3 separate regions of the Homo sapiens genome follow, and regions 1 and 2 are each linked to region 3. The links are contacts of gene promoters, found by promoter capture Hi-C in human tissues and cell types (Jung and others, 2019). All regions are on one chromosome and are shown on one strand. Each heading gives the region's core, a stretch centred on a gene start or on the middle of the fragment in contact. The rest is flanking DNA. Distances are from core to core; before and after follow the strand shown. Region 1 overlaps TASP1 (taspase 1). Region 2 overlaps NDUFAF5 (NADH:ubiquinone oxidoreductase complex assembly factor 5). Region 3 holds the start of TASP1 (taspase 1).

Evidence for each region. The method cuts DNA at HindIII sites, captures the fragments that hold promoters and counts their contacts. A contact is called where the count stands out against the background at its distance.
Region 1: a fragment that was not itself captured here is called in contact with the fragment with the promoter of TASP1 in region 3 in 2 of the 25 tissues and cell types used here (aorta and spleen).
Region 2: a fragment that was not itself captured here is called in contact with the fragment with the promoter of TASP1 in region 3 in 2 of the 25 tissues and cell types used here (spleen and stomach).

Annotation. Positions count from the first base shown.
Region 1 is chr20:13,493,984-13,497,851 of GRCh38, forward strand. The region is part of intron 10 of TASP1 (taspase 1); the gene reads right to left. Among named protein-coding and RNA genes, the nearest start is that of TASP1, 140 kb to the right of the region's middle. The HindIII fragment of the contact is 6,679 bases long and covers 1-3,868 here.
Region 2 is chr20:13,809,590-13,813,496 of GRCh38, forward strand. The region is part of intron 8 of NDUFAF5 (NADH:ubiquinone oxidoreductase complex assembly factor 5); the gene reads left to right. Among named protein-coding and RNA genes, the nearest start is that of NDUFAF5, 27 kb to the left of the region's middle. The HindIII fragment of the contact is 5,919 bases long and covers 1-3,907 here.
Region 3 is chr20:13,637,258-13,641,301 of GRCh38, forward strand. TASP1 (taspase 1) reads right to left here and starts at 1,675. Exons shown (of 14, transcript NM_017714.3): 1 at 1,637-1,675. RefSeq lists enhancers at 1,032-1,532, 1,146-1,235 and a silencer at 1,426-1,575. The HindIII fragment of the contact is 12,335 bases long and covers 1-4,044 here.

The sequences.
Region 1 (3,868 bases), core at 574-3,073, 140 kb before region 3:
TCTTATCTATGGTGGTGCTGCTAAGATTGTATCACTATATTGTATTTATCTGGGAAACAGAGTATATGTATAAGCATTAGATTTATCCACACCTGAGAACTTCATTAGGAAAGTAGCCATAAAAGAAGCAACACTGTTTGTAATGTTCAGTTGATGCTCTTGTCAATCTTCTATCTGGATTCCTGTTCCATCAGAGAGAAGGATCACATATGAGGAGAACCAGCTCTGGCTGTAGAACCTGAAATGAGTCACTTATGACATCTATGCTTCAGCTTCCTCATTTGAAAAACTAAATGGCTTAGCTTTAATAGTTTTATATTCCTCACAAGACAAAATATTTACCACTGAATGTAGTTTTAGAACTTTAATAACTTGCTGGTTAAAATATAGTTAAGAGGCTTGCAATAGGCAGATGACTTGAGAAAACCCTTTTTAAAAGCTGTTAATTAATGAAAAAATATACTTAGATTAAATTCAATTATAGAAAACTTAATTTTTTTAGGGAGAAAGGGTCACTGACTCACTGACTCACTGATTAAATAATCAACTACTGTATATCTGGGGCTTTAGAATTATCTTGCAAGGAAAGTACTATCATCTCATCTGACAAACAAGAAAAGTGATTTGGAAGAACTAAGATTCTAAGATCCAAGTATTGTGACTCCTAGTAACATGCTCATTCCATAACAGTCACTGCAGAAACCAGGCTAATATCATCACATGAATAAAGGAGATATAAACAAAGAAAATCCAAAGCCCCAAAAATCTGAGAATATGGACAAGATCATAGTAATAATTATCTGCAAATAAGGAGCACAACAGGTTCTGATACTAACACTTAGGACTGTAGATAGTCTCCAATTTTAACCAGAAAGTCCTATAAATAGTAAGTCACCAAGCACATCCCAACAAAATAAAATTAAAGATTTTATTTTGCCTCTAAGCCATGGTGTGCATTTCATGAGCCAGAAAAAAAAAACCAAAGCCAAAATGCAGTTATAAACATCTACAAATATGCAGATGTCATGTAAAATATTTCACTATACATATTGATTATATATGTGGTATAAAGTCCACAAACAGAAAGAACATAAGCAAGACAGTTATACTACACCATAAATCTAACCTATAACTACTGAGCCAGCCACATATATTAAATATTTAATTAATAATTTTCTTAATGACTTAAAATTTAGAAGTAATTTATTGGGGTCATTTTGATCTCTTTAAAAGCTGAAAAGGAAGTTTGAGCCAATGTTATTTCTCAATAAATTCCTCTGTACAAAGGAGAGGCAATATAAATCATTTCATCAGCTTTAAAGCTGTACGCAAAGTTTAAAAACAACATTCAGTATTTAGAGGCCAAATAAAGTACCATAGAAAAAAGTCTTAAATCTGCTCACCAGTCATTGCTTATCCCTTTCTCTATTCAATACAGTATCAAGGGAAGTTTTGAGGGCAGGGAAAGACACACTGCTCTGAAGGAGGAAGGAGAAAATAGTATTCATATTTTATTCTCTACATCTGGGTAGAATTTAAGGAATATCAATACAGAAATTGTCCAAAAGCTGTCTTACCACCAACTAGAAAAATTATCAGATGAAAGTAGCAGATAAAAGAAGAAAGGGGCAAAATACAGGAAGGCCACCTCAAATGAGTTAGGTAACAAAAGACAAATAGACAATATACAATTTGGGACTCTTCAAGGTTTTCATTTGACACTATTACTAAGAAATAATAACAGGAAAAGAAGGAACTACATCAACTTGTATTACTTGTTAAATTTATTTATTTAATTTATTTTAGCCAGCAAGTTAACTTACAGTTTTATTCAAAATTACCTAAGACTGTGCTTCCCAATCTCTCTCAGGTCATGAGAAAAAGATATATCTTGGACTAAAATGTTTCATATAGTCTCAGGAAATTCACAGAATGCCCCATAAAAACCAATACATAGATTCCATAGGGTCTACAAATCCCAAATTAAGAAACCACATGGCTATAATTTTATTTAAAAATCTATAAGCGTATGGTTTTAAACCTGTAGGCTAAGGTTTCAATTTGATTTTGATTTTTTTTTTCTTCCTTGAAACAGAGTCTTGCTCTGTCACCCAGGCTGGAGTGCCCTAGTGCGATCTCAGCTCACTGCAACCTCTGCTTCCCGGGTTCAAGCCATTCTCCTGCCTCAGCCTCCTGAGGAGCTGGGATTACAGGTGCCTGCCACCACACCTGGTTAATTTTTGTATTTTTTAGTAGAGACAGGGTTTTGCCATGTTGGCCAGGCTGGTCTCAAACTCCTGACCTCAGGTGATCCACCCGCCTTGGCCTCCCAAAGTGCTGGGATTACAGGAGTGAGCCACTGCGCCCGGTCTGATTTTGATTTTTAATACTGCTGCTGGACCCATGAACTACAGTGATACTATCATCGCCTAGAGGCTAACATGAAAATTGCAGTAAAAATTTGGAAACTAGATTATTATGTTAAAATCACATTTCCTACTTAAAAAAAAAAAAAGGAGGAGGAGGATCATTGGAGAAATGGCTGGTTCTGGGTCTCTGGGTCTCATAAAAGATGTATTCAAGAGGAGTCTGAGGCATCTTGTTCTACCCAAAAACAAGAAAATTACCAAAGATAGTAAAGTCAAAGATCACAGAAACCAACATAAAGGGGCTCCAGTGCCAAAAGATGGACAATTTTACCAGCTAAAATAATGGTTCTAAATCCTCTAATATGTCTCACAAGCCTCCAAAACAGATCCCTGAAATTTCCACTTCTAGTTAGGATGAAGAAACTTCCAAGAGTCCAGCACTCCCACTGTAATAACAATAGCAAGCCAGATAAGCTACAGTCATGGGTTTTTTAACGAAAATGCACAAATATCTCAATAAACCTAATTCCAAAAAAGATAAGCCTTTCCTATGAGAAAACAGAGCCATGGTCTCTTCTATTCCTAAGGAAGCAGTGGAAAAAGAATAAATGCTGTAGATGAGGACAAGAAATTAGTTGAACTTTAATAAACTTCAAATGACTACATGTGAGCTACCATGATGCATCAGAATCAAAAGAAACCCCATTCACTAAACAAGGCTGAATCCATTCATCAATTCTTTCCTACAGGTCTTCACTAATAGCTCCAAAAATGTAGGGTAGAGCAGGAGAGCTGAAAGATATCCACACCCTGAGGTGCATAAGTTCTTTGGCAAGTGAAAAGCAGCAGCATTTTGAAGTCTGGGGACACAACAAGAGAGCTGAAGGAGAAGAGCCAACCTGGATGCAGAGAGCCATCACTTACTGCAAGGCAGCAGCCACCAAGCAATGGGAAAAGTAAAAAAGAGCTGAAAGAAATCCCTCAGAAGCACACTGGATCTTCCCTAAGTGCACTGCAACTGTCCACCAAAGTGTGAGACCAGAGTGGTAAGACAAAGGAAGATCTCATAGGTGGGTGAAAGTAAAAATATCCCCAGTGACCCAATAAGCTGAAAGCTAGGCTGTAAAAGACAGAAGGCAAGAGAAAGAGAGAAATTCCCCCTTCCTAAAGCTGACAGCTGGTCTATAAATAGATAAATAGATAAAGAGATATCTGGAGTTTTGCTGGTGCTCGGATCCCAGCCTTTGCTGAATAGTAAGACTTGACACTACCATCAGAATATCTCAAGCCAGCATATGGAAACAAAAAAGAGCCCAAAGAGACAGGGCAATCCTAAGCAAAAAGAAGAAAGCTGGAGGCATCACACTATCTGACTTTAAATTATACTACAAAGCTACAATAACCAAAACAGTATGGTACTGGTAAAAAAACAGACACATAGACCAGTGGAACAGAATAGAAAACTCAGAAATAAAGCCATACACCTACAACCATCTGAC
Region 2 (3,907 bases), core at 61-2,560, 170 kb after region 3:
ATCAAATGCAGAAGTACTTTATAGGCCTTGTTAAAATTGTTTGCCCTTATCTTAAAATGCCCCTTGAGGCATCTTAGAGAGGTAACAGTATCAGACTTGGATTTTGAAAAGAGTAGATTGGCAGATAAACTAGTCACGAGATTAATTTCAGTATAGCTTGCTGAGAGATGATGGTAGTTTGTACTAAGGTGGTGGCAATGGAGATGAAGAGAAGCAGATTCATCCCAGAGATGTTTAGGAGATAAATTTTGCAGTTCCTGCTGGTGGATTGGCTGTGGGCAGATGAAGGAGAAAGACATTTGAAGCTTAATTGCTGAGTTTCTAGCTCACATAGAGAGATGGTGTCCTTCATTGATAGAAGAAACAATAGAAGAATACCAGGTGTGGGCAGGTACAGCCCTTGAGTTTACATTTGGATACATTGGGTTTGAAGTGCTTTTGAAATACCTAAGAGGTTATGTCAAGTAGGCAGTTGAGTATGTGGGTAGGTAGCTCAGAGGAAGCTACTGGCTTGGTTAAAAAGTTGGGAGTCAGTTGTGAATAGGTGGCATTCAAAGCGTTTGCCTAGGATAAGAACATGGAGTGAGCAGACAAAGTGGCTTGGTACTGAGGCTTTAGCAGGTGGGTAGTCGACGTCTGAGCCTACAAAGAGACTGAGAAGGAGTAGCCAGCAAGGTGTTCCAGAAAAACACCAGAAAAGTGTAGAATTGCCTGAACCAAAGGAAAGAAAGAATGTTTCAAAACAAAGGGAGCACTTAGCAGCGTTAAAAGCAAACTATGAACTGAAAAGGAAGTCCGCTAGATTTAGGAACAAGAAGGTTATTGGTGACCCTGGTGAGAGCTCTTTTGTTAGAGTGAGGAGAGTAGAAGAGGAGTAGGTTGAGGAGTAAGTGGAAAGTGAGGAACTGGAGATAGCAGATATGTGCTGTTCTTTCAAGAAGTCTGGTGGTGAAGAAGAGGTGAAGGATGGAAAGGTTACAGGTGTCAGAAGAGAGGAGAGGAATAGAAGTTGAGATGAGGTTGTTTTTTTTTTTCTAAGACTTGAATTTATTTAATTGCTGACTAGAAGAATCTAAGTGCTTTCCTAGAAGAGGTGACTCTAGAAGAGAGAGAAAAGATAATTGATGATGACAGGTGTCTGAGAAGGTGGGAAGGGTGCAATACAAAGGCCAGTGGAGGGGTTGACCTTGGTAAGGGGAGAGGCAAAGTTATAGCAGGAAGGGAGAAGAGGTAGCACCAAAGGATGTAGGTGTTTATGTTTGAAAACAAGAAGTTCCCATCTTGTGGGTCTATTTTTTTTGTCAAACTGGAAGTAATATATGCTAAGAATGAAAGGGTCAGAGTTTTGAGAAGTGAATGGAACCGTTTGAAATAGTCATTATAGGGAATGAGAAGGTGAACTGACCATCAACAGGAGGTGGCAGCTCAGGACCAGGCACGAAAATCGGATAGTTGAATTAGTTTGGGTTGGGGGTTTGCTAGTTAAAAGTGACAAAAAGACAAAGGTAAAAGATAATTCTAGGAGTATAATTGAGATAATAGGTTAAAGAATCTTAGCTGGAAGAAAAGGGAAGTGGGAACAAGAAAGAGTGAGCTGATAAATTGGGAGGAAAAAGAGGAGCTGAGCACAGGTGGTTCCAGTGTGGTCAGGGATGGTCACGGTTGAAGTTCCTGAACACACTGGAGGGACAGGAGGGTATGGTCAGAAAATGAGATGTTTGATGATTTTGGAAGTAAAGCAGTTACAAGTGATAATGGTCTGGGACGTGTCTCAGGTATCAAGGCAGAGGTGGTGTGATGGAGTGGTTGATTAGAGATGAGATTTTAAAATCTTAACTTGCTGATTATTAACATGAAGTCACCCAGGATGGTGGCAGTACTGGAGTGTAGAGGAAAACTGAGCCAAGTGCCAAACCTTTCAGTGAATGAGGGGAGTGACTAGCCTGATGTCAGACAGCAAGCAGGAGTTAGGAGGAGCTAACAGCCTTCTGGTGTGGGGCCTCAGCAGGGTGAAGGTGTTTAATAGGGTAGGGAAGTAATGGCTTGGAAGAGGCTTCAAGGAGTAAGAAGGATACAGATCAAACTCTGAAAGAGGTTAGATATGCAAAATATATGCAAAAATAAACTATTACTTGAAAGGGATGCTGGAGAAGCAGTTTCCTTAAAAGAGAGCTTCAACTTGCGTCCTTTGTGGGAATTTGTGAGGTGGTTCTTTTATATATATAGACTGACATCAAAAATCATTTCGATGAATGGGGGAAGCAAGAGGGGTTAAAGGTATGTTCTGTGAATCCAGAACTACACTTACCTAGGGGAGCCTTCATCTGGATCCTGAAAAATTGTAAGATGATTTAAAGAAAGAGGATTATACAAATAAGTATCTAGTCTTTACTTACAGATTTATAGTCTTTTGTGAGCATTGTTGTTCTTGCTTGCTTAAGTTACGAGTGAGAATAATTAGGGCCAAAGAGAACAGTTACCTGTCAAGTGGCAGAATTAGCTGCCAAACTCATGCTTCTTGGCTCTGCCCTGGCACTGTCTGAACTGACCCTGTTCCTTCTTGTGTTGCCCATCTGTAACAAGGTTCATTTGACCTATCGTGCAGCCTCCTCTGAGTGTGGAGCTTCTGTCACTCTGCAAACGGAAAGATGCGTAGCTGAAATCTTACCATTGTCATCAGTTTTCATTCATTAATAGAGGGATTGGCAGCCTGTAGCATGCATGGCCAAGATAACAGAGGATCAGTAATAAGTCACACACACCCCTTCCCCAGCATACCCCAAGGACTTACCTGATGTAATCAAGGAGCCACTTTATCCAAAGGCTTGAGAGATGATGGTGGGCTGATGATATATCACTCGGGCTCTAATAATAAAAATGTTATTCAAATACAGCATTTATTTTTGTTCTGCTGTAGAATCTGTGTTCATGATTCATTTCAAGAAAGAAAAGAGAAACATACTAGAAATTAGACCTCTCTGTTGGAAAAAGTTACTTCCCACTGATTTCAACATATGAGCAGCACTTAACTCTGTGCTTAGTGCAATTCTCTGAGGTTTTTCTAATACCCTAATTTTACCGGTGAGCAAATTGAGGCATCGAGAAGTTAAGTATCTTGTCCATGGTCACACTGAATCTGTAGTTACAATTTGAATTCAGAGTCCTGTACTGCATATTTGATATGTATGTGATTCTTTAAATTCAGGTTAACATGTATATTCAGCGAAATGTATTAATCTTAAAGGTACAGCTGCTTGTATTTTAACCACCATCCTGAACAAAATATTGAACATTTTCAGTCTCCCAGAAGGTAGCCTTGTGCTCCTTCCAAATTGATAACCCCCTCTTTTCCTAAAGGTTTCTTGTTTGTTTGTTTTTCAGATGGAGTCTCACTCTGTCGCCTAGGCTAGAGTGCAGTGGCACAATCTTGGCTCACTGCAACCTCTGCCTCCTGGGTTCAAGTAATTCTCCTGCTTCAGCCTCCCTAGTAGCTGAGATTACAGGCATGTGCCACCACACCTGGCTAATTTTTGTATTTTTAGTAGAGACAGGGTTTCACCATGTTGGCCAGGCTGGTCTTGAACTCCTGACCTCAGGTGATCCACCCACCTTGGCCTCCCAAAGTGCTGGGATTACAGGTGTGAGTCTCCTAAAGGTTTTAAATAGACCGTATATTTTCAGAAACTATGGCCTAATACTTTCAGATGCTTTCGTAATGCTGCTTTTTCTTAACTGTAATGTCTGTTACAGAAATCAGATGTCTTAGTTTTTGATACATCTTATCCTTAGGAATATTAAGAGAAATTATTTACACTTATAAAATGATATTTAACAAAATAGATATAATCATTAACAGGTTGGTTTTATATACCTTCACTTAGCGTTTATTGAGCATCTACCCATGTGC
Region 3 (4,044 bases), core at 425-2,924:
TGAAAAAATCAGAACCCTTATAACCTGCTGGTGGGAATGTAAAATGGTGCAACCAGTTTGGAAAACATTTGGCACTCACTCAAAAAGTTAAACATAGAGTTACCATATGCCCACCAATTCCACTTCTAGGTATATACTCAAGAGAACTGAAAACGTATGTCCATACAAAAACTTGTACACAGATGTTTATAGCAGAATTATTCAAAATAGCCAAAAAGTAGAAACAACCTAAATGTCCATCGACCGATGATGGTTAAGCAAAATGTGGCATATTCACACAATGGAACATTACCCATCCATAAAACAGAATGAAATACTGATACACAGACATTGATGAACCTTGAAAACATACTAACTGAAAGACACCAGACAAGTGAGGCCATATATTCTATGATTCCATTTATATGAAATGCCAGTATAGGAAAATCCATAGATACAGAAAGTAGATTAGTGGTTACAAGGCCTGGGAGAGAAAGCAGAGAATCTAATGGGGAGTGACTGTCATGAGTATAGGATTTCTTTTGGGGGTGATGAAAATGTTCTGAAAGTAGATAGTGGTGATGGGTGCACAACTTTGCGATATGAGAAAAAGCACTGAAATTTACAATTTTAAAGAATAAATTTTATGGTGCATGAATACCTTAATAAGACTTTCTCAAGAGGAAAAAAGACAATCTATCCGTGCAATGAACACAATGTATGTAACTATGCCTCTTAGTTATAACCGTATTTTACACGCATACATTATGATCACAAATAGGTTAATATGAATAAAATATTAGAAAAAAGATCAAAATGCTGGGTTGGCAGAACTATAGGTGATCTCTTCATAACTATTTCTGCATTTTCCAGATGTTCCTTAGTAAGCACTGCTTTTTGTAAGTGGTGGGGAAAAGTTTTATTTACAACAAAAAAGATAAATTATTAAACTCCTAAGAATATAAGTAAAAATTCCTTCGCTAATAAAGAATAATAATAATTCAGCAATCTAATGGCCCCTAACACACCTTTCCTTCCCCTCCCCTACAGAAGCCAGGAAAGTTGAACTCTCTCCTTCCGGAAACACGATACCCTCGATTTCCAGGACATCTCTAGCTCCTGCTTTCCCCCCCTCCTCTCCAGCTGCTCCATCTTCTCGGTCCTTTCCTCCTCCTCTTCTTCCTCCTCCTCCTCCCCCTGAGTAGTAAGTGCTAACGACCCGCAGGACTCTCATCAGGCCTCTATTACTAAGTAAGGGGCTGCCTTACCCCCAACCCGCCACCCAGGACAAGGCGCACATTCTCGGCTGTCTGCGAACCTCGGACTCTGAGACATCTCCAGCCTGAGACTGCAAAGTGGGTGAAGAACTGCGAGAACTCCCCACATACAGACAGTACTTCCCCGGTGGCCACGAGGACGCCAAGCCGGAGATGAGGCTGGGAAGGGGGACGACGGGGCCGCCTAGAGCGACCAAGACTAGGGAACTAGGGACATCCTGGCCCCCTCCTCTAGCCCCGCCCGGGGCAAGGGGTGTCCTGCGCGCCGCCCCCTCTCGGACCCGGAGAGGACGTCCCAGCTAGCGTACGGGGCCCACACACAGAGGCAGCAGCGCGGAGGCGGCAGCGGCGCGGACAGCGTGGGAAAGAGGGACACTCACCCGCTTCAGCCCCGAGCCTTCACTGCACCGGAAGTAGTCACCCGCCCGTTGCCAGGGTGAGGAAGCGGGGCTGACATCAAGTCTCCCCATTGGTCATTCGGGGTACCACGTGGTCGGAAGCAGCCTCCCACAAGCGGCTCTGACTCCGCCCTCCGCTTCGGAGCGGCTCACCTGGCCTCAGAGGTGCAGCGCTAACTCCACCTGGGGCTTCGTTCTGAGCTGCGCATGCGCTATTGCTTATCTCTACCCACCCCGCCCCTGAATAAGCCCGCAGGATGTGATTATATCTGAGTGGTTGATTGACTAATACTGTGATGAGAAATGAAATTAAACTGACCATCATTTTATCTAGGTGTCGCTTAAGAGTTACTTTCTTTCAATCCTTAGAGCACTGTTAGACGGTAGGGAAAACTAAGGTTCAGCCTGCATTGCTTGTAGGAGTTGGGGCACGAGCCTTGCCCAGGGGGAAGGAGTGTAGGCGGTCTTTTATCGGCTAGGATGTAAGACCGAAACCCAGTCATGGGTTTTGATGACCCATGACTGATGGATTTTCCTTATACTTCCACCAAAACATCACGTCGAACTGAATGTAAAGGCAGAAATGAGAATCTAACTGGCTTCTTTAAGCCAGCTATAGAGGAATTTACACTAATGCAAAAGATAACACTTTTCTTACCACATTTTTTTGTTTTTGGAAAATATTTATTCTTCATTAAAATGTCTTAATTATATTAACACATAATGGTTTATTATTGTTATTTTAAATAACTTTTTAACATTTCAGTTTTTTGTTGGTTTTTTTCTTTTTTTTTTGGAGATGGAGTTTCACTCTGTCAACCAGGCTGGAGTGCAATGGCACGATCTCGGCTCACTGCAACCTCTGCCTCCCGGGCTCAAGCGATTCTCCTGCCTCAGACTCCTGAGTAGCTGGGATTACAGGCGCTCGATACACACCCGACTAATTTTTTGTATTTTTAGTAGAGACGGGTTTTCACCATGTTTGCCATGCTGGTCTCGAACTCCTGACCTCAGGTGATCCTACTGCCTTGGCCTCCCAAAGTTCTGGGATTACTGGCGTGAGCCACCGCACCCAGCCACATTTCAGCTTTGTATTCAATTTTTAATATAGTAAATATTAATAGATGTAACCCACAGAAACAAAAGCTTTGGAGTGTTCTCTACTATTTTGGGGAGTATAAAGGTATGCTGAAACCAAAAAGTTCGAGAACCACTGATACCATTATTATAAATATAACCTATGTGGTTTTATTATGTAACTTGGGGCTTTTTTTCTTTCTCTTCTACCACTGACTTCTTAGGGAGGGGCAAGGGGAAGAAGTTTATTACATAGTAAGAATAACAGTTTATTACATAGCAATAGTAACTGAAACCGATTTTGTTACCTAGAAGTAGGATGGATATTATAACAAAACATAACATAATAACATCATAAAAGTAAAACGTGTGGCACTGGCTTTGGAACTAGGTGAAGCAGCAAGAGCAGGAAGGGATCCAAAGTATTAACAAGAGTCTAAAAGGACTTGAGGAAGCTGCCAATGAGGGCTTAAAGGGAGCTAAGGAAGATGTTATTGGAAGCTGGAGAAAATGGGGCCCTTGTTATATAGTGCCAGAAAGTTTGGCCCAGGCATTAGGAAGCAGACATAAACCATCCCCATTGTGACCTTTCTGAATTCCTCACCCGCAGAATCCATCAGCATAATAAAATAGTTGTTCTTTTGCACCTTTAAAGTGGATTTTTACACAGCAATATTAACTGGAACCAGCAGGAATAAAAGAAAGATGTTAAAGTTTTAAAAAGACATAGACATGCTCCCTTCCATTTCTTAGGCAACATTCTTCCTGGAATTTAACTACATTGTAATAATCATCTCCCAGTGCTGCTCTGTATACTTTTGTCTTGGGTATCACACCCAGATGCCACACAGGCCATCCTCTGGTAGGTGAATACTGCTCAAGTAAAAGTAACAAAATTCTTCGGACCCTTTTTTTTATTATTATTATTGAGGCAGAGTCTCACTCTGTTGCCCAGGCTAGAATGCAGTGGTGCGATCTCAGCTCACTGCAACCTCTGCCTCCCCGGTTCAAGTGATTCTCCTGCCTCAGCCTCCCCAGTGGCTGGGATTACAGGTGCCCGTGACCACGCCCGGCTAATTTTTGTCTTTTTAGTAAAGATGGGGTTTTGTCATGCTGGCCAGGCTGGTCTCGAGCTCCTGACCTTAGGTGATCCACCCATCTCGGCCTCCCAAAGTGCTGGGATTACAGGCATGAACCACCATGCCCAGCCCAGACCCAAGTTTTAACATTTTTAACCTGCATTGGGTACAGTAACAATGAGATCCTTTGAAATATTAATAACGAACAGTTGTAATATCTATTTGATTAACTCA